Linked DNA regions of Homo sapiens: all the other regions are linked to region 1. The links are contacts of gene promoters, found by promoter capture Hi-C in blood cells and fetal thymus (Javierre and others, 2016). All regions are on one chromosome and are shown on one strand. The core of a region is centred on a gene start or on the middle of the fragment in contact, and the rest is flanking DNA. Distances in the headings are between cores, read along the strand shown.

Evidence for each region. The method cuts DNA at HindIII sites, captures the fragments that hold promoters and counts their contacts. A CHiCAGO score of 5 or more calls a contact.
Region 2: a contact is called between a fragment that was not itself captured here and the fragment with the promoter of ADAMTS1 in region 1, in 3 of 17 cell types (naive B cells, naive CD4 T cells and monocytes). The highest score is 7.0, in naive B cells.
Region 3: a fragment that was not itself captured here is called in contact with the fragment with the promoter of ADAMTS1 in region 1 in 1 of 17 cell types (fetal thymus); the score reaches 5.7 in fetal thymus.
Region 4: a contact is called between a fragment that was not itself captured here and the fragment with the promoter of ADAMTS1 in region 1, in 2 of 17 cell types (non-activated CD4 T cells and erythroblasts). The highest score is 6.0, in non-activated CD4 T cells.
Region 5: a fragment that was not itself captured here is called in contact with the fragment with the promoter of ADAMTS1 in region 1 in 16 of 17 cell types (activated CD4 T cells, total B cells, megakaryocytes and 13 more); the score reaches 16.6 in activated CD4 T cells.
Region 6: a contact is called between a fragment that was not itself captured here and the fragment with the promoter of ADAMTS1 in region 1, in 10 of 17 cell types (erythroblasts, total B cells, fetal thymus and 7 more). The highest score is 13.7, in erythroblasts.
Region 7: a contact is called between a fragment that was not itself captured here and the fragment with the promoter of ADAMTS1 in region 1, in 3 of 17 cell types (total B cells, activated CD4 T cells and total CD4 T cells). The highest score is 6.7, in total B cells.

What each region holds. Positions count from the first base shown.
Region 1 is chr21:26,844,109-26,847,017 of GRCh38, forward strand. ADAMTS1 (ADAM metallopeptidase with thrombospondin type 1 motif 1) reads right to left here and starts at 1,301. Exons shown (of 9, transcript NM_006988.5): 1 at 117-1,301. The coding sequence starts at 846. RefSeq lists enhancers at 1,485-2,085, 2,086-2,685. The HindIII fragment of the contact is 3,865 bases long and covers 1-1,894 here.
Region 2 is chr21:28,706,053-28,709,137 of GRCh38, forward strand. It overlaps a transcript of HEMK2 not described here. Among named protein-coding and RNA genes, the nearest start is that of LINC00161, 170 kb to the left of the region's middle. The HindIII fragment of the contact is 7,731 bases long and covers 1-3,085 here.
Region 3 is chr21:28,824,259-28,827,284 of GRCh38, forward strand. It overlaps a transcript of HEMK2 not described here. Among named protein-coding and RNA genes, the nearest start is that of HEMK2, 60 kb to the right of the region's middle. The HindIII fragment of the contact is 3,338 bases long and covers 1-3,026 here.
Region 4 is chr21:28,684,409-28,687,549 of GRCh38, forward strand. It overlaps a transcript of HEMK2 not described here. Among named protein-coding and RNA genes, the nearest start is that of LINC00161, 150 kb to the left of the region's middle. The HindIII fragment of the contact is 3,700 bases long and covers 1-3,141 here.
Region 5 is chr21:28,725,153-28,728,443 of GRCh38, forward strand. It overlaps a transcript of HEMK2 not described here. Among named protein-coding and RNA genes, the nearest start is that of HEMK2, 160 kb to the right of the region's middle. The HindIII fragment of the contact is 4,683 bases long and covers 1-3,291 here.
Region 6 is chr21:28,775,647-28,778,650 of GRCh38, forward strand. It overlaps a transcript of HEMK2 not described here. Among named protein-coding and RNA genes, the nearest start is that of HEMK2, 110 kb to the right of the region's middle. The HindIII fragment of the contact is 2,871 bases long and covers 1-2,730 here.
Region 7 is chr21:28,657,119-28,660,359 of GRCh38, forward strand. It overlaps a transcript of HEMK2 not described here. Among named protein-coding and RNA genes, the nearest start is that of LINC00161, 120 kb to the left of the region's middle. The HindIII fragment of the contact is 1,372 bases long and covers 714-2,085 here.

The DNA.
Region 1 (2,909 bases), core at 51-2,550:
CTGTCCGCGGACTTATGATCCTGCCTGCCAGCAGGAGTCTACCCTGAAGTCGCGTGGGATAGATAAAGTGAGGAGAGGAGGATGAATGGACAGACAAACGAGAGCAATTCTTCTACCTGTGGGCTGTCCTACGCCTTGCAGTGCCGGGTCCTGCGGCGACCACTGAGCCCCTTCGTCCTCGCCCTCAGTCCCTTCGTCCTCGTCTTCGGTCTCCGCTTTCCCAGTCGGCCGGGGCTCGTCGTCCACGACCCCGCACGTGCCGCCGACGTCGCCCTGCCGATTCCGCCGCAGGAGGTGGAACTGTAGTGGTGCCGGCGGCTTCTCCCCTGGGGCGGCGGTGGCGAGGCGCTCGCTGGCGGCGGGCAGCGGCTGGATGAAATACGCCTCCCCCAGCAGGTAGAAGGCGCCGCGCACGCCCTCGCAGAGGCTGAGGGCGGCAGCCGAGCTGGGATCGCCATTCACGGTGCCGGAGTAGAAGCAGTGCGCCAGGTCGGTTTCCGGAAGCGGCGTCTCGGACCCGGATTTGCGCCCCACGTTCTGGAGCGTGAAGCCGGGCGCCAAAAAGCTGCTGTCGGGCCGCAGCTCCAGATCCAGCTGCTGGTCAAAGGCGTGCAGGCGGAGGCGCGTGGTCCCGTGTCCCGGGGCGCGCTCCAGCTCCGGCACCACTAGCTCCTCGTCCTCCTCGGAGGGGCGCCCGAGTGCGTCCGACACGGCCAGTAGCGCCGCGGCGAGCAGCAGCAGCGTGGGTACTGGCCCAAAGCTCCGAGACCCCGGAGCCCGCTCCGCGTTCCCCATGTCGCTGCCCAGCTTGCGCCTTCCGAACCCCTCGGGCACAGCTCGCTGCATTGGAGCCCCAGGAGACACCGCTCGTAGCAGCGCACGGAGCGAGGGACCTTTAGTTCGGGTCGGGAGAGCAAAGCCTCGTTGGCCTGCTCTGGATTGTTAAAATTAACAATTTCTATTATTCGTTGGAAGGGCGCGCAGAGCCGGCTACAGCCGAAGCTCCCGGAGTCACTAAAAGGAGGCGCTGCAGTTCTGCCGGCGCGCGGGAAGTTTTTCTTCCAGCGCAAAGTTGGAGACACTGAGAGGCAGGCGCAGGCAGAGTGGCTCTGCTGGGACAAGAAGCGCTCTGGGGCGCCTCCGGGGCTGAGGCAACGCGGAGATTGGTGCCTGGCGCCCCTCTTCGGCCTCCGCCTTGGCTGCGATGTTGCTCACTCTGCTCAGGGCTCTCCCCTCTCCGTCCGGTAGCGCACCCTGGCTTTGCAATAGCCCCTGGCTCGGAGCCGCTTTCCAGCGAGTGCAAGAACCGGGCAGCCGAGCGGTCCTTTTATAGTGGACCAGTGAAACCCCCACCCCCACCCCACTCCTCCCCTTTGGCCCTTTTCCATCCCAAAGACGCCGCCCCCGGCTCCGTTGGTGCTAAACCGCGCTCCGCGCTGCGGGCTCGGGAGGGGGAGGGGGCAGCCTCCGCGCTGGCTCCACGCCACTGCTCGTCAATCTAGGGGCGGAAGGGGCGCTGTGACCAGCACTTTGTACTGCTGGGGCCGCTCCAGGGAGAAGACTCTCCCTTCCACCGCTTTTCTCCCTCGCCGGTTTCCTGGACCACCCTTCCTCCCCACCGCCCGGTTGCGGTAACTCAGTTACCGCGCTGGGCTGCGGTTCCCAGGAGGGAGGGTTCGGTTGGAGAACGCAGTCCCTTCTTCAACATTTCCCTATCCTGGAGCTGCCCTGGGTCTCCTTCCCTCCTCCCTCAGTTCCCTCTTCCCCAATCTAGGAGATGAGCTAGGGCTACACTTTCTAGAAAAATACCTCACCCCACTTCTCCACCTTCCCAGCCTGCCAGGAGCTCCTTAGCCGCCGCCTGCTCTCTCTTCGCCCCAGCTTTTCTAGGGAAAGCTTGGCCCTGCGCTTCCCCCAGAAAGCATGCCTGGGTGAGGGGCCAGGTGACACTTCCTACGATCTGGATTTTAAAATATGTTTGCTTATGCCTTCACCCTCCACCAACCCCCACCCCGCACGCCACCTCTTCACCAGAGACGACTTTGTGAGGGCCCGGTTTCACATTTCTGGAATGGGTGATCTGGGACGCGGCTCAATTCCCTAGAGCATAAGGAGGGAATTGCGCTTTTTCTTCTTCATTCGAGAAATGATCGGCTCCCGCCAGTCTGCGTGCTTTCACTCAACAGCAGCTGCAAGCCCTAGGCCAGCGTCGCAGAAACGGCCAGGAACCCCACTTTCCTACCCGGGGGCCAGCAGCGATCGCTGGGGCTAGCAAGCGTGCAGAGGGGGAAAGAAGGAAATCGGCTTCCTTCCCGGACCCCTCCTTCCTCTTCCTACCAGGAAGGGAAAAGGCTATATCCGCGTTACGAAAGCGAGGAGAGGTCCACCAACAGGTCCTTAGGAAAAAAAACTGAGTGGCTCTTCTCTCCAAAAAGTGGGAGGGGCTCAAGGACCCAGAGGAAGGACGTGTTTCACAGGCGGAAAGCCGCGGGGACAATGGCGAGAGCGACCGCCCTAGCCCCGGGCGGACCCGCAACCCTCACACTCGCGCGCCCCCGCGTTAGTGCTCGAACTGGTCTCCGCCTTTCCGCCCCACTCCCGTCCGGTCTCTTGGTTGGCTCCAAGTAGATCTGGGTCCTTTCCTCGCTCCTCCCCAGATCTTCCCCACTTCAGTTGGCCCCAGCCAGAAGCGTCCCTTCTAGTTCTCCCACACGTCCCTCTTACAAGCTTTCTTTTCCGGATGCTTTCCAACTTCTTTTTTCCTAGCGAGATTGCTTACTTGAAAAACAAAAACAAAAACATTGCTTTCCACTCATCAGGAAAAATCAAATGAGCAAGAATGGCAGAGAGAAGCAACTCAGCTTACTTCTGAAGGGCTTAGTAACGACCTCTAGTCCCTACACATTTAG
Region 2 (3,085 bases), core at 522-3,021, 1.9 Mb after region 1:
ATTCCAAGAATTAGGATGTAGACATCTTTGAAGTGGTCATTATTCTACCTACCACACCACCTATCAGTGCCTCATTCTACACGGACAAAGTCACAGGTTAATTGTTCTATATTTGACGTAACTCTAAGTTCTCGTAAGAAATCTCAAACCTGTCTCTAAATCTCCTCTGTTTTCATCTAAAGATTTTGTTAGTGTATATCTTTGAGCATTCAGAAGTAGACAGTTGCAACTACAAATTCATTTCATCTGTTCCACAATGGTTTGGTTACATTGAAGGATTATTTAACGACTCTATAACATCCTAGTTATATTTTCTGAGAAATTTATGGTCCTTATCGGGCCTCAATCAAATGTCATTCATGTCTTATTTCACATGTAGTTAGAAGGGGAGTGTGTGTAAAATATGGCCATGAGGTGACTCTTGCAGTATCTTTACTCATCTTGGAAACAGAAAAAATGAGCTAGTTTCATAAACTTAATTTCTTTACCTCTTCAGTTTTCTCTACCTGAAATATTGAGGCTTCTCTTTAACTCATCTTTTAAAGCACAGAATTTCCTAAACTTTTTAAAAATTAAATGACTTTTCCTGATTTTGCAGTTTTCTTTTCCCTTCATGAACGTTATCACTGCAGAAAAAGCAACGCTTGTACTTTCAAGACTATAAAATAAGCCCAGTTTATAAAATTATTATTTGGAGGCTAAATATGGAATTTCAGATACTCACTCTGAACCACAAAAAAACTGAAATTAGCATTATTCTTGGTAGCTGTATTCTCTGCTACTGTATTTCCTTATTGTTCTATGTACTGTGCTCTACTTTTGAAACTCCCAGTCAGTAGGAAACTGCTCTATGCTCTCAGATAAATATACTCTGGTGAATGAAATGTAATGGACCCTTTGAAAAAGTAAATACTTAATGTACACAAAGAAGGTGGAAATGACATTTGGATTCTCTAAAGTCTAGCAGTTCTCAAACTTTCTGGCCTCAACATCCCTTTACACTCTCAAAAGTGAAGGGCCTCAAAGTTCATGTGGATTGTGTGTACTGATATTTCTAATATTAGAAAATTACATTGAGAATGTTTAAATATTTATTAGTTTTAAAACGACAATAAACACATTAAAGGTTAGCACAAACAACATCTTAATGAAAATTTACTATATTTTCCAAATCACAAAACTTAGAAGAGTTGCACAATTTTAATTTTTTTTTTTTTTTTTGAGATGAAGTCTCACTCTGTCACCCAGTGTGGAGTACGGTGGCATGATCTCAGCTCACTGCAACCTCCGCGTCCCCCATTCAAGTGATCCTCCCACCTCAGCCTCCCAAGTAGCTGGAGTTACAAGCATGCGCCACCAGACTGGGCTAATTTTTGTATTTTTTGTATAGACGGGATTTCACCATGTTGGCCAGGCTGGTCTCGAACTCCTTGCCTCAAGTAATCCACCTGCCTCGGCCTCCCAAAGTTCTGTTATTACAGGCATGAGCCACCACACTCGATGTAAATATTTTTATCTCTTTAACATACACCCTAGTAGAAGGCAGCTAGACTCACCAGAGAATTGCCTGCTTGTAAATAGTTTTTCTACTACATTTAGTTAAAATGCTCTTCTCAATAAACTATCCTACTATATATATATATAAACACACACACACTGTATCCCTACATAAAGCTGAGGGTTACCGAGAATAAGTCAAATGTATTCATTAATGTCAATAATGAATTGGGTGGGAGTGGATTTAGACAGAAAAGAAATAAAAACAAAGGGTATATGTATATCAAATCATCACACTGTACACCTTGAATATATACAATCTTTATTGTCAATTAAATATTGTTTTAAAAAATAAAGGACCAGAAGCTGAATATAGTTATAGAATGCAGCAAATGATGAAAACAAAAGTGGGAGCAAAGAACAAGCCTGAGATGATCGGTGTGAACTTGGCTAGGAGGATTCCAGATTGCTGGATCTGCTGCTAATTGGGAAGCATGGGTGAAAAAAGCAATTACTTTAAAAACAAGCCCATGGCCAAAAGTTTTCAGGACCCATATTTTCAAAATTCCAGATTCCATGATTTTTAATCATGTTTAAATAACATTAATGCATGTTAATATCTTCTTGACACAATGTTTTTATGGTTTAAATAAAATGAGGAACTTTAATGTAGTCAAAAAAAAAAACTGTTCTACCATATGAAACTTACATGTGGAAACTTAAAGATCTTTTGAAAATCAGGTTTTATTTTTACTGGTTTCTCCTACTATTAATCCTTTTTTGCCTCCTGCCAAAGAGTATTCTTTGTCTTCTTCCACTCATTATGTTATTCATGCTTATGTAGTAAATGATTATAATTTATCTTACAATTTCCATTAAGTTGTTCTTGGATCACAATCCCCAGGGTATGGTTATAATCCCAGGGATGAAAGGAAATGGCAAATAAGATATCATGTGGGCACAGGTTAAACAGGTACAACAATTAATTCCAAGCATATGTACAGAAGGATAGCTATGACAGTTGTCAACAATGGTTATGACCAAGGAAAAATAGAAAGTATTATGGTGTGGTTTGAAAGATATTTGTCCTTAGGAAAGCTATTAACAAAAATAATGCTAGGTAATAGCAAAAAAGGGTGTTAAAAGTAAATCATACAAGTCTGTCATTCTTTATTCAAAACGGATTCATACCATACCTAGAACACTGTGAGCAACTGTGACCTCTATAAAGGCATAGCCAAACTGGATGAAATCCAAGAAGATTAACTAAAATGCTTAAAAGAATGGAGTGGTTTCTCAAAAATGAGAGATTAAAAAAAGGAAAGGTTATATGTGTAAATGAAGACTGTCTTAGTTCAGGTAGCTATAACAAAATACCAAAGACAGAGTGGCTTATAAACAACTTAGTTCTCAGTATCCTGGAGGCTGGAAGTCAGGGTGACAGTATGGTCTGGTCCTGGTGAGGGCCTTCTTCCAGGTTGCAGACTGTCATCAACTTGTTCTATCCTCACATGGTGAAAAGAGCTGGGGAGTTCTTTGGGGTCCCTTCTATAAGGGCACTAATCCCACTTATGAGGGCTCCACCCTA
Region 3 (3,026 bases), core at 181-2,680, 2.0 Mb after region 1:
CATCCAAGGCTGTGAACCATGGTTCTAGACTTTAGGTTCTATCAGAATTTACGACAGGAAGAAATCACTCCTATCTGAAGTGGTCAGATACTACCTTTGATTTCCTCTCATATCTTGCAAAAGACTTCATGTTCTCTTTGAAAAGTGTGTGTGTATGAGTTTGTTATTGTTTTAAAAATTACATATTTATATAGCACCCATGCAAGAAACAGTTTTTACAGATAGCACATAATTTCATTTGTCTTCAATTCATCTACTGTAATGTAATTAGAAGAAAAACGTATTAGTATTCCAATTATAGATAAAGCAAAAGATTAGTACTCCGCCTGAGATCACACAACAAATTCATTCTAAAATTCTGACTTCACTGGAGTTGCTTCCCAGAAATAAAAAAAGAGAGAGAGAGATAGAGAGTCTTTGAACAGTCCTAGTTGAAATGTAGCCTATTCAATACTAAAAATTATTCAAATAAGTAGTCCATCCACACTCCATAATGGACAGTCTTCCTCTTGGCTTTTTTGTTGTTGTTATTATAAAGAAGGGAATATCCTAAAGGGTCAATAATCCTCCTTCTATTTCTCCATTTTTCTGTCTCCATAAGGCAACATCACTGAATGTATTAATGGGCTTGCTCAGTTAGGGTTTTTAATCCCTCCCAGTTTGCCCAGAATGTTCTCAGTTTTAGTACTGAAAGTCCTGTGCCCAGTTAACCCGTCTTGGGCAAACCTGGACAGTCCCTATCAGCAGTGGAAATAAACACTGCTTTGAAGATCTATGCAGGAATGGGAGTTTAAGGTTAGTTAGGAAGATCAGCCAGGCCAGCAATGGGCAGGGAGTGGGACAATCTAAAGATCCATGAAGGTGGGCAGACTTGGCTTCAGGCTTTGAAGTCTAGCTGGGAAGGCACAGTGCATGACCCAGGGAAGGGGCTCTCAAACTTGAGTGTGTATTACAACCCCCTGGAGGGCTTGTTAGAACACAAATTGCTGGGCACCACCTCCAGAGTTCCTGATTCAGTAGGTCTGGAGAGGGGCCTAGAATTTGCATTTCTAACACATTCCCATGTAATGCTGATGCTGTTGGTCCCAGGATCACGCCTTGAGAACCACTGCTCTAGGTGCTAGTCTAGACTTTCAGCTGAGCATAAGTAATAGGTGTGAAGGTGATGTCTTGGCACTAGGGAGCTAGCAGGCCACATTAGGCAGAGATATGAGCTAGGGACCAAAGGCAGGACTCAAAGCACTGAGCAAATGTGAGCTAACATGGCAGGACCAGGCTAAGAGGATCTGGAGTACTAGGCAGATAAACAAAACAGGAGCTCCATCTTAAAGAAGTATGACCAAGATCTTTCTACTGGATGTGGGTGCAAGGTGTGGTGTTGGCCTTAGGAACAAGGCAAAATTCAATGCGTAAGCAATCATTGAGGAGCACAGACTTAATGGTCAGTCACTGGAGTTCCTGAATTAGGAATTTTAAAGATCCCCTGACAACCATAAAAGTTGGGTGACCAACTATTCTAGTTTTCCCAGGAATTTCCCTACTTCAGCACTGAAAGTGCAGGGCCTAGAAACCCCTCAGTCCTAAGACATCTGGTCACCCTAATTGTGCTCTTAGAAGACTACAGCCTAGATCCACCTACATCTCTGGGTCAGTTGGCTCCAGCCATAAGGAAAGAAAGCACACATGAGAAGAGGAGGAGCCAGCTGGAAAACGAGGCAGAGAGCCAGGATGCTCATTGCAACCTATAGCCTTCAAGAGAGGATAAAAGGGCACCCAGAAATATTGTCTATAAATGCTGAAATGCATTTGCTTTAAATGGGCAAAACACGTTAAATGACTCCTCAGGCCTGCAGCTTTTCTAAACTCATGAAAGTGGAAAAGTTCAGCACAAACAGAACCATCCAGACACCCCGTAGATGGAAGTCTCTCTCACTGCCTTTTGACAGTCATCACACACACTTAAGATCTCATTGTAAGTATAGCCTTAAAGAGCCCTGATAAGTACACATCAGTAGGGGAACTAAAACCCATCTGTAAATATTAGCAGAGTCTCCCATGTTCTTTTGGTTTCCTTCACACACAAAAATAAGCTAAGTGGAATGAACACACAGTTCAAAATGACTAAAACACTAAAGGACATTTAAATCTGGGGAAAGAATCTCTCTGTTGGGAATATGGATTTCACCTAAGATCCTTAGTGTCATTCCCAGCATGCCAGAGTTATTTCAAATCTCTTTCATAACCAAATATTAATATTCCACCAGAATGGGGAGCATGAGGGCCACTATTGACAGGAACACAGCCTACTAATCATGAGAGATGTTTAAGATGTTCTTCACTAACGTTATCCACAGACTGTATAAAAATAATAACAGAAAACGTTTAACAGTAACAAGGATCATCACCAGGGAAAGTACCTAAACCATCACAAAATCCGAAAGCAAACACTGAACTAATCCATCCTCCCAGCAACTAACTCCTGCAAAATGCTGCTTATGTAGAAATAATCTTCTCAATCACACTTAAAATATTCACTATGATAATGAACTTTAGCCGCAGTGAATTGAGTGTCCCAATGTGCTGAGTCTTCATGATCAAGGAGAACCTGGCATAACCAGCATCTTCAAAATGCAAGTACCCTATGTCCTTCTGGAATGAGCCATGTCATCCAGTAAGTAGGCTGAAACAGAGGGATCCGACGAGGAGACTCTCCCAGAGCTGAAGTGGGAGTTCAGAGCAGAGTGGAGAAGATTGAAAATCTCCCAGATAACCTGGGAGAAAATGCCAGAAGAAACAGGAATTTGCCCATCCATTCAATCTTTCATTCAACAGATAGTTATGATGTGCCATCTCAATGCCAGACCCCATGCTAGGCAGAAAGGCTACAAAGTCTAATGGAACTGCTTTATAGGTATTTGTAATCAAATAGAACAAGCAGACAAATTAACAAGTAATTGCAGTACCTCTAAGACGTTTTATAATAAAAGGATATATGCAACCTCAGAGAAGCACAGATGAGAGAGAAT
Region 4 (3,141 bases), core at 103-2,602, 1.8 Mb after region 1:
AGTAATACCTTGAAATTCACTTTTATAATCCTTTATGACACCTAATTTCGAGTCTGTCATTACGGTTTGGGAATTCAATTGAAATCCATTTCCTTCTGCATAAAGACTACAAGGTAATAGTTCAACCTGACATGATGCAACCATCCTGTGACTGTGACTTTCATCATTTTAGACATAAGGGATATTATACTGCAGGGATTTTCATCATTTGGGATTTCATCATTTGAGATTACGGCATTCAGGATTGTGTCTTTCAGAATTATGATCCAAACCTGACATCAACACGTGAATGGGGGATGCACAATCCCACCCATAGTACTTGGGAACTCCAGTGGACCATGGGCTCACTTGAGCTCCAAGCTCCTGGGTCGAACATCCAACTGCCCTTCCTCACCTTGATGACCAAGTACCTGTGAGATCAGCTCTATTCTACAAGGAATGGTTATGCACACTTAGATTTCTAGTGGCCACCAAAAAGATTTAAATGGTGTAAAAAGTAAACAAAGTCAGACACTAGTTAAAGAGGTAAAGACAGATTTTCATCAGTAATGTACTATTGCAATAGGGAAATGAGTTCTGCATGAACCGAAGTCAACTTCAATTTGTGGAGAGGTGACTGGTGTTTTAAAGGGAGAATGAGAGAGTTGGGAGGGGGCAGGTATTAGAGTCAGGGAAGTAAAAAAAACCTACAAAAAACAGAAATAGGGAATCGGTTCATGTGAAGTATCTCAGGATGCAAGACTTCAGAATATAGTTAGTGATCATAAAAGTCAGCTCTTAGGGGCTACCTCTATGCAATTGCCTTGCCATATGTTTTCCATATGTTAGATTTTCCTTTTTTAAGTCTTTTTCACTATTTTAAATTGTTGGCATTATTTTGTACAATACACTATGATATGTATTTCATCTTTTCAACTGATCATGAGCCTTTATGTCCCAAAAGCCAGTATACCAGAAAGGACAGGAAGTTGAAGTTGAAGAACAGCAAGACTTTCATCAGAAAGTCACAAAGAGCCACAGTGATGACTCCCTCTTTTTTAAACTTTAGCTAAAGGCTGTGGTAAAGTGGAAAAGGAAAAATATATTAAGAAAGCAGAAGATTTAAGACCCCACTGACTCTCAAACCAAAACAAAGCCCATCGTTGCAAACTTACAGAAGCCAGTTTGGTTATGCACACTTAGATTTCTAGTGGTCACCAAAAAGGTTGAAATGGTGTCAAGAATAAACAAAGCCGGATGCTAAAGAGGTAAGGACAGATTTTCATCAGTAATGTACTATTGCAATAAGGAAACATGTTCTGTATAAACTGAACTCAGCTTCAATTTGGAGGGAGGTGACTGTTGTTTTAAAGGGAGAATGAGAGAGTAGGGAGGGGGCAGGTATTAGAGTCAGGGAAGTAAAAAATTACAAAAAAAACAGAAACAGGGAATTGGTTCATGTAAAATCCACACAACTTTGCTAACTGGAGCTTATCAGAGTTAGGCTCCTTCCCTCCCACAGAGGCTGGGAGACAGGGTCCCTGTATTCAGGTGTTGGCTGAAACAAACAGTACATCCTTGTGACAGCCTTGAGTGTTCTCAGGCAAGCATTTTATATGTGGGTCTAGGGTCATTCTTAGGAACACTACTTTGAGCTATTAGAAACTATATTAGTGAGTGTTCAAGTCTTTATATGCCAGGCTGAGGCCTAGTCAAGAAGAGGGCTCCAAAGAGCCTGGCTAGAGTTTGGTGAAGGAGAGAATCTGTTATAGTGAAAATTTACTACTCTCCCACACCTCACCATTAGGTTTTTTGTTTTTTGTTTTTTTGTTTTTGTTGTTGTTGTTGTTGCTGTTTGTTTTTTGAGATGGCGTTGTGCTCTTGTTGCCCAGGCTGGAGTGCAATGGCGCAATCTCAGCTCACCACAACCTCTGCCTCCCAGGTTCAAGCGACTCTCCTGCCTCAGCCTCCCAAGTAGCTGGGATTACTGGCACCCACCACTGTGCCCGGCTAATTTTTGTATTTTTAGTAGACATGGGGTTTCACTGTGTTGGCCAGGCTGGTCTCGAACTCCTGACCTCGTGATCCTCCCACCTCAGCCTCCCAAAGTGCTGCAATTACAGGAGTGAGCCACCACACCTGGCCACCATTAGGTTTTAATAAAAACAAATCTCAGCATAAATTTCTTTATATAGACAGACATGTAGTAGCAACTATTCATTAGCAAGAAAGCATAAAAGAGTTTATACTATTTGTTCTGTGTGCTGGATGAACGCTTTTTAGGTGGCCCAGGGATGAAACATTCAGTTGAAATAGACACTGTGAGATTTCCAAGGCAGGATTCTGTGCTTACACAGCACCATGCAGTCAGAAATTCTCCTAAGTCAACATCTGGATTGAAGGGAATCAAACCATGACTGTCATCCTTAAAAATATCAGGTCAGGCCTTCGTGCATTTTTATACTCTTTTTAAAAAGGATGGAGAGACTCTGAACTATTTTAGCCAATCCATATGTTCAAAATATGTTTAATTTCATCAGTGAGAGCCAAAGCCTATTTCTAACATCCATCAGGCTAATCAACAAACACTAGATTCAGCAATGGAAACCCAAATTTGGAATTGATATGCTAGTTCATAGAGTATCAGAGGTTGAACAAAAGGATATAATAAAGGGCATGTAGCAGCTGTTTCCACAGTGGGCCCCTCTCACATTATACCCCCTGCCACATCTGAACTGTGCTGCCCTGCTAGCATTCTATCTGGCCACATATAAAGTTAATGCCTTAGCTAAAGTTTGCTCATGCTGTATGTACTTTAAAGTAAATTACAGAGATTGTAATACATGTCTTATACAAAGCTGAACCATGGCAATGGCAAACATACTGCACCTGGGGCTAGGACCCCTGGATTCTGATTTTAGGGCACCCACCTTGGACACACCGTCTCTTTGGACCTCATTTTCCTCGTCTAGAAAATAAATGGATTGACTTAGGTCACATTTCTCAAATTTGTCCTACAGAAACTTAGGGTTTTGTGGAGGAGATTCAGGAATCCTACAAACCTGTGATATACATTTTTATATCATTTATTTGCAGTGTGTTTTTAAAGAAAAAAAGAGAAAGTATGATGTACATGTCAGCATAGCATGCACACACCCAGCA
Region 5 (3,291 bases), core at 260-2,759, 1.9 Mb after region 1:
TGATTAATAAGTCAATCAATGTTGTTGGGTGTCCCTAGAGCCAACCTAGCATGCACCCAATAAATGCATGCTAAATTGTATTGAAATTAAATCTATTCCATGTAAGTAAGTGACTTATGGCACATCTCTTGGTTTTGATGTCCCCCAAATACAGATTCTGAGATAGAAGCTGGGTGCAGGTAGTTTATTTGGGAGATAACCTCAGAAAGCACAGGTAGGGCAATGGAGAAAGTGAGACTAGGAAGGGAGGTAAACTAAAAGGGATACATTCATGAGACAGGTAATCACTGCAGACAACTGAGCTGCAAACTCAGAGTGAATACTGGGAGGAAACACATGGAGGGAACTTGATGAAATCTCAGGCATTTCTCCCCCTTAGCCTTCTCCTAACCACACATCAACAGCTTTCCAGGGATACCAGACAAGAGTGAGGGCTTAGGTGCTGCCAACTCTCAGACTGAACTCTGCAAGTTCTATCATGTCCTGACTCAGACCCCAGTTACTGTCAGAAGCAATGCTCTCTGCCATCCGCAGTCCAGATTCTCAATCTCATTTCAAGTCTTGCTTTTAAATAATTCTGGATGATTTTTATAATTTGGTCTTCAATTTGTCTATTTTTACTCATCTATTCCCTAAAATAATTTCAAAAGACATTGTACCCCCTAGCACATTATTAGGTTGACATCTATAGGCTTTCTTGGTCATCAGTTTAAGTAGTTGCTAAAAGTGACTTCCAGTAAATTGTAAATATTGAAAGTCTAAAATAAAATTGTTACTCAGATCCTTCAAATGTTTCCAGTGGAATTTAAATTCCAAAGAAATGGGATACTCATCACTGTTCACTTAACGATATAAATGTACATGCTTATCTTGTTTTATAATGTTCCTTAAAGTCATATTTCCATTCCATTTTCCCCACAGAACTTTATTCTAATACAATAATATACTTGAAATAATTTAACTAAATTTAACTAAATAAGAATTTAACTAATTATTAACATAATTCACCACAGAAAAGGGTATAAATTAACATTTTTTAAAAAAGGTCCTTTGACTATATAGGTTCAAATGTATATTTTTAAGTTTTATTTGGGGAATTACCATACTATGTTTTACTTAGTTCACAACTGATCAAAACAATACAAATATATTTTAAATATTAATAAATAAACTTAAAAATTTAAATTTTAATGGAAAATCATCTCAATGAAATGGGCGGGACTGGTCTGATTTTTCTAATTAGTTAATCTCTCCATGAATGAATACTATTTATCAATAGAATGAGACAGAGGTTAATATCAATGTTGTTCTTTGTTTAAAAAATAGCACTGAAAAGACTTGTCCAAAAAGAATTTATTTAAGTAGTTGAAAATAGAATCGATTTTATTATAGCAGTGTCTTTCACTTCTTTGAGATTTTTTAGAGTTACATCCTAAACATAGCATAGTAGTCTACCGTCAAAGATTATTTTCAGGCCAGGCACAGTGGCTCATGCCCGTAATCCCAGCACTTTGGGAGGCCAAGGCCTGTGGATCACTTGAGGTCAGGAGTTCGAGACCAGCCTGGCCAACATGTCAAAACCCCATCTCTACTAAAAATACAAAAATTAGCCGGGAGTGGTGGTGGGTGCCTGTAATCCCAGCTACTTGGGAGGATGAGGCATGAGAATCCTTGCACCACTGCAGTCCAGCCTGGGCAACAGAGTAGGACCCTATCTAAAAAAAAAAAAAAAAAATTATTTAGAATATCCTAAGTAGGTTTTCAAACTTTATTCTGAGCAAAGAATAAAAAATCATTGTAAAAGAATGTGGTCCCCAGTTATCAGATCAATTAGTTTTCTCAATATCAGTACTAGTTCACAGGGTCCCTTTGCTTGGGTTTTTCCACCATAGCAAGATAAGGAGTGAATCAAAGGATGGAAGTAGGAACATGAAAAGGGCAAGTGTGGGGAGAAAAAATAAGCAAGAAACTCTGCAAGTCATAAGGGTGCCTATGGAGAGATGAGTCTGAGAAAAGCAAATATAGGGGATTTGAGGATCTGGAGGTTGATTTTGTTGACACTGTCTCAGTCCCCACGTATTCCCTTGGGAAGGAGATGCATCCCCAGGACACCCACACATTTACATACACTTCAGTGGCTTTGGAATAATTGTATGGTCCCAAAGTCTTTCTTAGTTTTGCCTTATGAAATTCAAAGCCCAAGCGTTTGAAACCCAAAAACTAAGAATCAACTCTTTGGTTTGGTTACATCATCCTCAGGAGAAGTTAGTAAAACCTAATGCCCAGGCAGCTGCCTGGAAAGGAGGGAAGGATAGAGGACAAATAGTTTCTAGCAACAAAAAATACATTAGCTAACCTTTCAAAGTTGCACCCTGCGTGCTCAAAATAACAAAGGAGCCACATCCATTATGGATGCTATAGAATTCATGAAGTGCAATCATTTGATTTGGGCCTTTAGTTTGTAGATTTAAGATTTATTGGAGAAGAAAAGAAGTGCATATAATAGATTAATTTGTGGGGATGTTAAAAATGCCTGTGCATGGACTTATTAGATAACCTGCAATGCGTAGGTAAATTTGATGTTCAAATAGGACCACTTGTTTATAAGCCTGATTTCTTTGGGAAGAAAATCAATTCAGACCAGACCTGTTTCATTCAAGTAAGCCTGAGGGCTTGCTTGAAATAAACTGATAAATTCTTCTGTTCCCAATTAAAAAAATAGGGCCAATATCCCTCATTTTAAAAATGCTTCTGTTTTTCATGAAGTGTGTGTATGCATACACATAATAATCTGAAGCAGTCTGCTGCTATTTAATTATAGCAATACATGTGACAATGGAAACAGAGATTGGAGCGATTCAGGGCCATGAGCCAAGGAATGCAGGGTGCAATTTTAGCCCAGTGAGGCCCATTTCAGACTTGGGACCTCCAGAACTAGAAAATAATAAATTTGTGTTGTCTTAAACTCTAAGTTTGTGGTAATTTGCTACAGTGGCAATAGGAAACTAATTCAGTGCCCTAATAAAATGACATGCCTTTACAAATTAACTATGTAGACACATCCCATAATCATCCTACATTAAAAGTATTTAATGTCCTCTAAAATAAAATTCCATTTTAATAATTATCACCTATGACTTTGGATTGCCCTAAATAATCTAATACAGATATGAAAATGAGTGTATCACCAGGCTAGGCCCAAAGGAAATTGACAGGGCTGAGCAGTAGAAATCAGGAGTTATTAGAAATCATGGGGCCTCCCTAAAGGGTGGGAAATTTATCAACTGTGCT
Region 6 (3,004 bases), core at 45-2,544, 1.9 Mb after region 1:
GTCAAATTCTTCTGAGAAGTTCAACAAGAAAGACAGTAAAAGGTACCTGAATTTAAGGTCCTAAAAGGTCATTGTTGACAATAACATGAGTTGTTTCAGTGGAGTGATGGGTACTGAAGCCAGATTATAAAAGATTAAATAAATGGTGAGTGAGAGAGAAGAAAATGGAGACTAAGTGTACACAACCCTTTCAAGTTGTTATTTAAGAGAAAATAAATTAGAGAGCAAAGTGAAGTAAATGGAGGATTTTATTAAGATGGGCGTGACTGTTAAAATGCCATTGGAAAGGATTCAGTAGAGTGGTGGAAATTGGAGAGGTGAGGGTAAAAAAAAAAGAGGGAAGACAAAATATGCAATGGCCTTTAACAGAAATTGGCAGAAAAGGATCCTGCAGAGGAGTTATAGGTTTTAACCCCTTAAGTTCTTAAAGGGAATGGGTCCCTTTTTAATTCAAGGAATGGGGAGAAAAGTCTAGCAGACAGGCAGCGTCAAGAAGAATTTGTAGACTTCTGGGAGTTTCAATGGCAATGCCTCAAGCCTGGGAACAGGGTAAGCAGCCCTAATTAGGATTTCTTCTCAAAACTTGAAGCATGAAGAAAACATGAAAGAATCTCTTGTGCCTTCTATAGGCAACCCAGCTGAAGTCAAGACATCTTTTAACATTAAGAGTGGATGCCACAGAGCCAGTGGCTTATCTGCCTGATGAATCAGTTGCACCAGCCCAGAATGAGGTGCAATTCAAAAAATTCTTGCCCCACTAGTAGGCTGCTGTGTATAATCCTATTCTGAGAGAGGCCCACGCAAGTGTGGTGAGAGTAGGAGAAAGGCTGTGGACTGTGGTTGTATTAGTCATGGGTCTCTAGAGGAACAGGACTAATAGCATAGATGTATATATGAAGGGGAGTTTATTAAGGAGTATTGACTCACACGATCACAAGGTGAAGTCCCACAATGGGCCATCTGCAAGCTGAGGAGAAGGAAGCCAGTCTGAGTCCCAAAACCTCAAAAGTAGGGAAGCCGACAGTGCAGCCTTCAGTCTGTGGCTAAAGGCCTGAGAGTCCCTGGCAAACCACTGGTGTAAGTCCAAGAGTCCAAAAGCTGAAGAACTTGGAGTCCAATGTTCAAGGGCAGGAAGCATCCAGCACGGGAGAAGGATGAAGGCTGGAAGACTCAGGCAATCTAGTCCTTCCACGTTCTTCTGCCTGCTTTTATCCTAGCTGCTCTGGCAGCTGATTAGATGGTACCCTCCCAGATTGAGGGTGGGCCTGCCTCTCCCAGGCCACTGACTCAAAAGTTAATCTCCTTTGGCAACACCCTCACAGACACACCCAGAACAATACTTTATTCATTCTTCAATCCAATCAAGTTGACACTCAATATTAACCATCACAGTGGTTATTCTATGTATTATTGAACATGTTTTTCACTAAAATGTGTTCATTCAGTTTTCCTTAAGCATTAAGTAATCCATTAGAATGTTTTTGATGCAAGTCACAGACTATCCAATTTGAAGTAGTTCAAACACTAAGAAGGCTTATGATATGGCAATGAAGCAGCAAAGCAATATCATCAAGAACCCTTGTGCCTTCTCTATTTCAGTTTTGTCATCTTTAGAATGTCATGTGACCTCTTTACAGTCCAAACATGGTATTGGCAGCATCAGCCAACAACTGCAGACACAAAAATACCCAGCAAAGAGAAGGTGAATTTCTTCCTGTATCTCAATTGCTATTAGCAAGGAAGTTTCCAGAAGCTCCCAAAATTGACTTCTCCTCAGGTCTTATTGGCTAGATGTAGTCACATGCCCATCCCTAAATCAATGTCTACAAAGGAAATGAGTCCACCATGATTGCCTTAGCCCAAACATAATTCACTCTCTGGGGTCCAGAGAGGTTGTCACTTACCCTGAACTCATGACAAGGTGACACCAGGATGAAATCAAGTCTCTGCCCTCAAGGAAAAGGGGATGAAATGGCTTAGGATAGACCAGCAACTGTCACAGCAGAATTAAAGAACACGTTTGGCAAGAGGAGGAGATCTGGTCACAAATGAAGGACCTTTGTTGTTAGAATAAAAAACATTCTTGTCCTCCAAAAGATTAAAGATAAGGTCATCAAACAGTGTTTGATTTCAGAGATATCTTCAAAGCCTAGCTAGTGAATTCATTTATTTATTAAACAAAGTTAATGGGATATTTGTATCTATGAGACATCAATAAAGTTCTAAAGAAAATTTCCTAAATTTAAATAACAGATTTACTTATAAGCAAGTCTTCCAAAATCCCATGAGAACCTTTACTTTAAAAAATAAATGTTTACCCTTGAAAACATTCTCAGTAGTAGAAAAGAATTGTCATAAATTTTTTGGTGTTACATTTTTAATTGACAAATATACATATTTATGGTGGACAACATGATGTTGTGAAATTTGTATACAATGAGAAATGGCTCAGCTTTTATATAACCACACTCACCTCTTTACCCCACCCATTTGTACACTCCCAGCAACTATTAGGCTATCCTCCAATTCTAAAATTTTGTCAAAATGTTATATAAGTGGGATCATACAGTATTTAACCTTTAGGGGTTGGCTTTTTTCTATCAGCCTAATTCCCTGGAGATTCATCCAAGTTGTCGAATGTATGAGTCTTCCATTTCTTTTTATTGCTGGGTAGTATTCCATGGTATGGATGTGTCATGGTTTAACTATTCGTTTGCTGAAGGCAAACCAAGCTTTTATACACATTCATCAACATGTTTTTATATGAACATGTTTCAATATATCTGCAACCAATGTCCAAAAGTGCAACTGCTGGGTCCTATGGCAATTGCAGGTTAGTTTTATAAGTAAGAGACTACGAAACTTCTTCAGAGTGGTTGTCCCATTTTATATTCCCACCAGCTATGTAGAAGTGGTCAAGGTTCTCTGCATCCTTGCCAGCATTAGGTTTCATTACCATATTTTAGCCATCCAGATAGGTATGTGCTAGTATCTCACTGTAGTT
Region 7 (3,241 bases), core at 150-2,649, 1.8 Mb after region 1:
CACAACTATGTATGTTTTTCTATTGTAAAAACTTCCTAAAACAAACATCAGCTGAAATTTCCTAATTTAAATGACCAATTTCTTGATCCTGCTTAGGTTAAACAGATCTGCATAAAGATACAGAAAAGTGATTGAACAGTCAAGAGGTAGCAGCAAACCCTAAGAAAAAGGAAGGTCAAAGAACTGAATTATATACAAGTTACCTGATCAGCTCCTAAATAATAGAAAATTTACTGTTTATCCAAAAGGACAGCAGTCCTATTTACCTAAATTATGCCAAGAGTGACTTCAGAGAGGAATTAGCTTTCACTTCTACAAAGATCTAACCCATGAGTTTGTAACTTTAATATTCTGACTTCATGTCAAAGGAGAAAAATCTCAACTCAATTATCCTACCAGAAAACACAAATTGGTTGACATTGGCAGACTACAACAACACCATGAAAATTGTAACTGCAGAGAAAAGACAAAACAAAAAAACCTCTGGAAGTCAGAACACTTGAGATTCATATCCTCATAACTTGGAAGGTTATTCTTTTGTTTGGACAAAGAATACTGGAGTTTTTTAAATGTTTGTACTTCAACTCATCCATACTTATGATATAATCCCCAAAAAGCAGCCAGCAACCCAAACCTTTAAGGCTGCCAACCAGGAAAAATAACTTAGCACAACAATGATCTTTTCTAACCATAAATAATGGTATCTTGGGCCAAGCTTCCTAGATAGACTTGGATTGAAACAGCTCTTTACCCTAGGGCTATTAACTGTATAACATGGATATTGAGAGGAAAAAGGCAAAAAGAAAAAATGCAAAGGAATAAAATTAATTCTTAAAATACCTCAAATTTTGAATAAATGGGGACATGGACTTCTTGAATGGTAGTTCTGTGAATTAAGACAAGCCATTTCTTGGTATGTGTGCAGAAATCCTAGAAGTTGTGGGATGCTTGAAATTATGTTTATGACTCCAAAACTCAAGTGTGCATGTCAAATATAGGTTGTAGGGACAGATCTCAACTAATCTCTGTATGGTATTTGGCTCTAACACCAAAATAATAGGACCTAAAAGAGAAACAACATTAAAGTCCTACCATCCAAAACCCAAACAATTTTGTAACTAGGATACTAATAAAAGAATAACTGGAGCCTCTAGAGTTCCAGTAGCTCAGTTTGGTTAGAGGCTACTTCAAAGGATATTAAAAATGCCCGAAACCAATAGAGTGGGAAAGTTGGCTTGAGGGCCCTAAGAAAATGCATAGAACAGAATTCTGATTCAGTGGGGCTCCTGATGAGGTAGCAGAGGAATAAATACAACCCACTTCAAGTTAAGATGAAGCCTAGGTGCCCATTTTAAATTGCCCTAAAATAGAGCTGAAAGGTCTTCTGCCTGTGCAATTGCCATGTTGAAGACCTTTGTTCTGCCTGCAGGAGGTTGTAATCTGGTCCTGCTATTCTGACTCCTTTTGACTAAAAACAAATGACATGTAAACAAATACAGCTTCCATGTTACACTGGCATGATTTTAATGTCATATTTACCAATCTCATATGAGCTATTTGCCTAAGATTCAATTAGACTTTAAGAAATCGTATTATATCGTTGACTTGTCCCAAGCTCATGACTGACAAAAAACCTCTTGTCCTTTTCATGTAAATTAATGTTAAGGCACATCTTGTCTGCTGCATATGCTGAATCTTTAGATTCATTGTAGCACTTTACGTTAATTGCTATTACATTTCATCTTGTTAAACCTGGTCACTTATTTTACCTGCGTCTGATCTCGATTCTGCCCTCCAATATATTAGCTAAAGTTCCAAAGTCCATGTTAACTATTTGTTTCCTATGGCCACCAACAGTGTTGAGTAGGTATAATCTCAAACATTTGCTGCATGTAACCAGCTACTTCCTGACTGTCAAAAATATTGATTGCTTTTCTTAGATACAAACTATCAGTCAAAACTTTACAAATTCTCCTGAATACATTATCATCCTGACATTTTTCTTTTTGTCCACAAAGATATTCTCTCCATATCTGTCTGATAAACTAGTTTCTGATATACATTTTCCTAATCAATCAGCCTAGAAGCTTTATTCAATAAAGAAATTTGGAAAATTTGAAAAGCCTTGTTCTACATGATTTAATAATAACCCACTGCAAGCGCTTCAGCTTTCTCAAAGAGTTCAAAAGATACCTTCTAATTAACCTGTTAGAGCATTTTGTTCCAAATGGACAATCAAGTTCCTCAATCTGTATCAAAATATTTTTATCAGTTCAGAATTTTGATAACCATTTTAGCAGCATTTGCCCATTTCTCATTTTTCAGCACCTTTATCTTCATCCCAGGCATTTTAAAAGTGCCAAAAGAAGTGAAGAAGCTCATTGCCACATTTTCTGTTCAAGAGGAAAGGTAGAAACCAAAGAGAACTATTTGAGTATGAAATTCCCTTCCATATTCATATACCCTGGACTCAACATTGCAATATAATGAAAAATTAAAATGGGTTAGACTTGAAGATTTGGGGTATACTTCTAACAAAAGAGAAATAGGTAATGAGACATCTCATGCTTAGCCCAAAGGATACCATTATTTTCCACAATCCACTAACCAAATATCTCCATATCAGATAAGGTAAGTCCTCTAACCTAGTTATTCATCTTCAGTATTGCCTGGGCTATCTTTGGTCTCTTGCCTTTCACACAAATTTTAGAATTATCCTAACAATATAGTTACACATACATATGTGCAAGCACATAAAAAAGTGCTAGAATTTTTATTGGGATGGCACTGAACCTAAATCAATTTGGGGAGAATTGAAATACTGAAGAGATTATAGCTTTCTATTTATTAGATCCTTTTTAAATTTTTCTCAATAATGTGTTGTAGTTTTCTGTATAGAGGTTTTGCACAACTTTTAATAGACTTATTCCTGGTATTCAGTATTTTTATATTATTGTTCATGGTATTATTTTTAACTTTTAATCTTTCATTTGTTTTTTTCTAGAGTGTAAAATAAAACTGATCAAGCTGAAATACAATGACTTTGCTAAACTCACAAATCAATTCTCATAATTTATCACTTAATTTTTGGATTTTTCTACCTAAAACTTAATATCATCTGTGAATAATTATAATTTTGTTAATCTTTATAGTTTTTACTTCTTTTTATTGCCTTCTGGAAATGATAAAAAAACTTCCACTAACATGTTGAACAGTAAATTGGGCAAGCTTTACTTGTTCC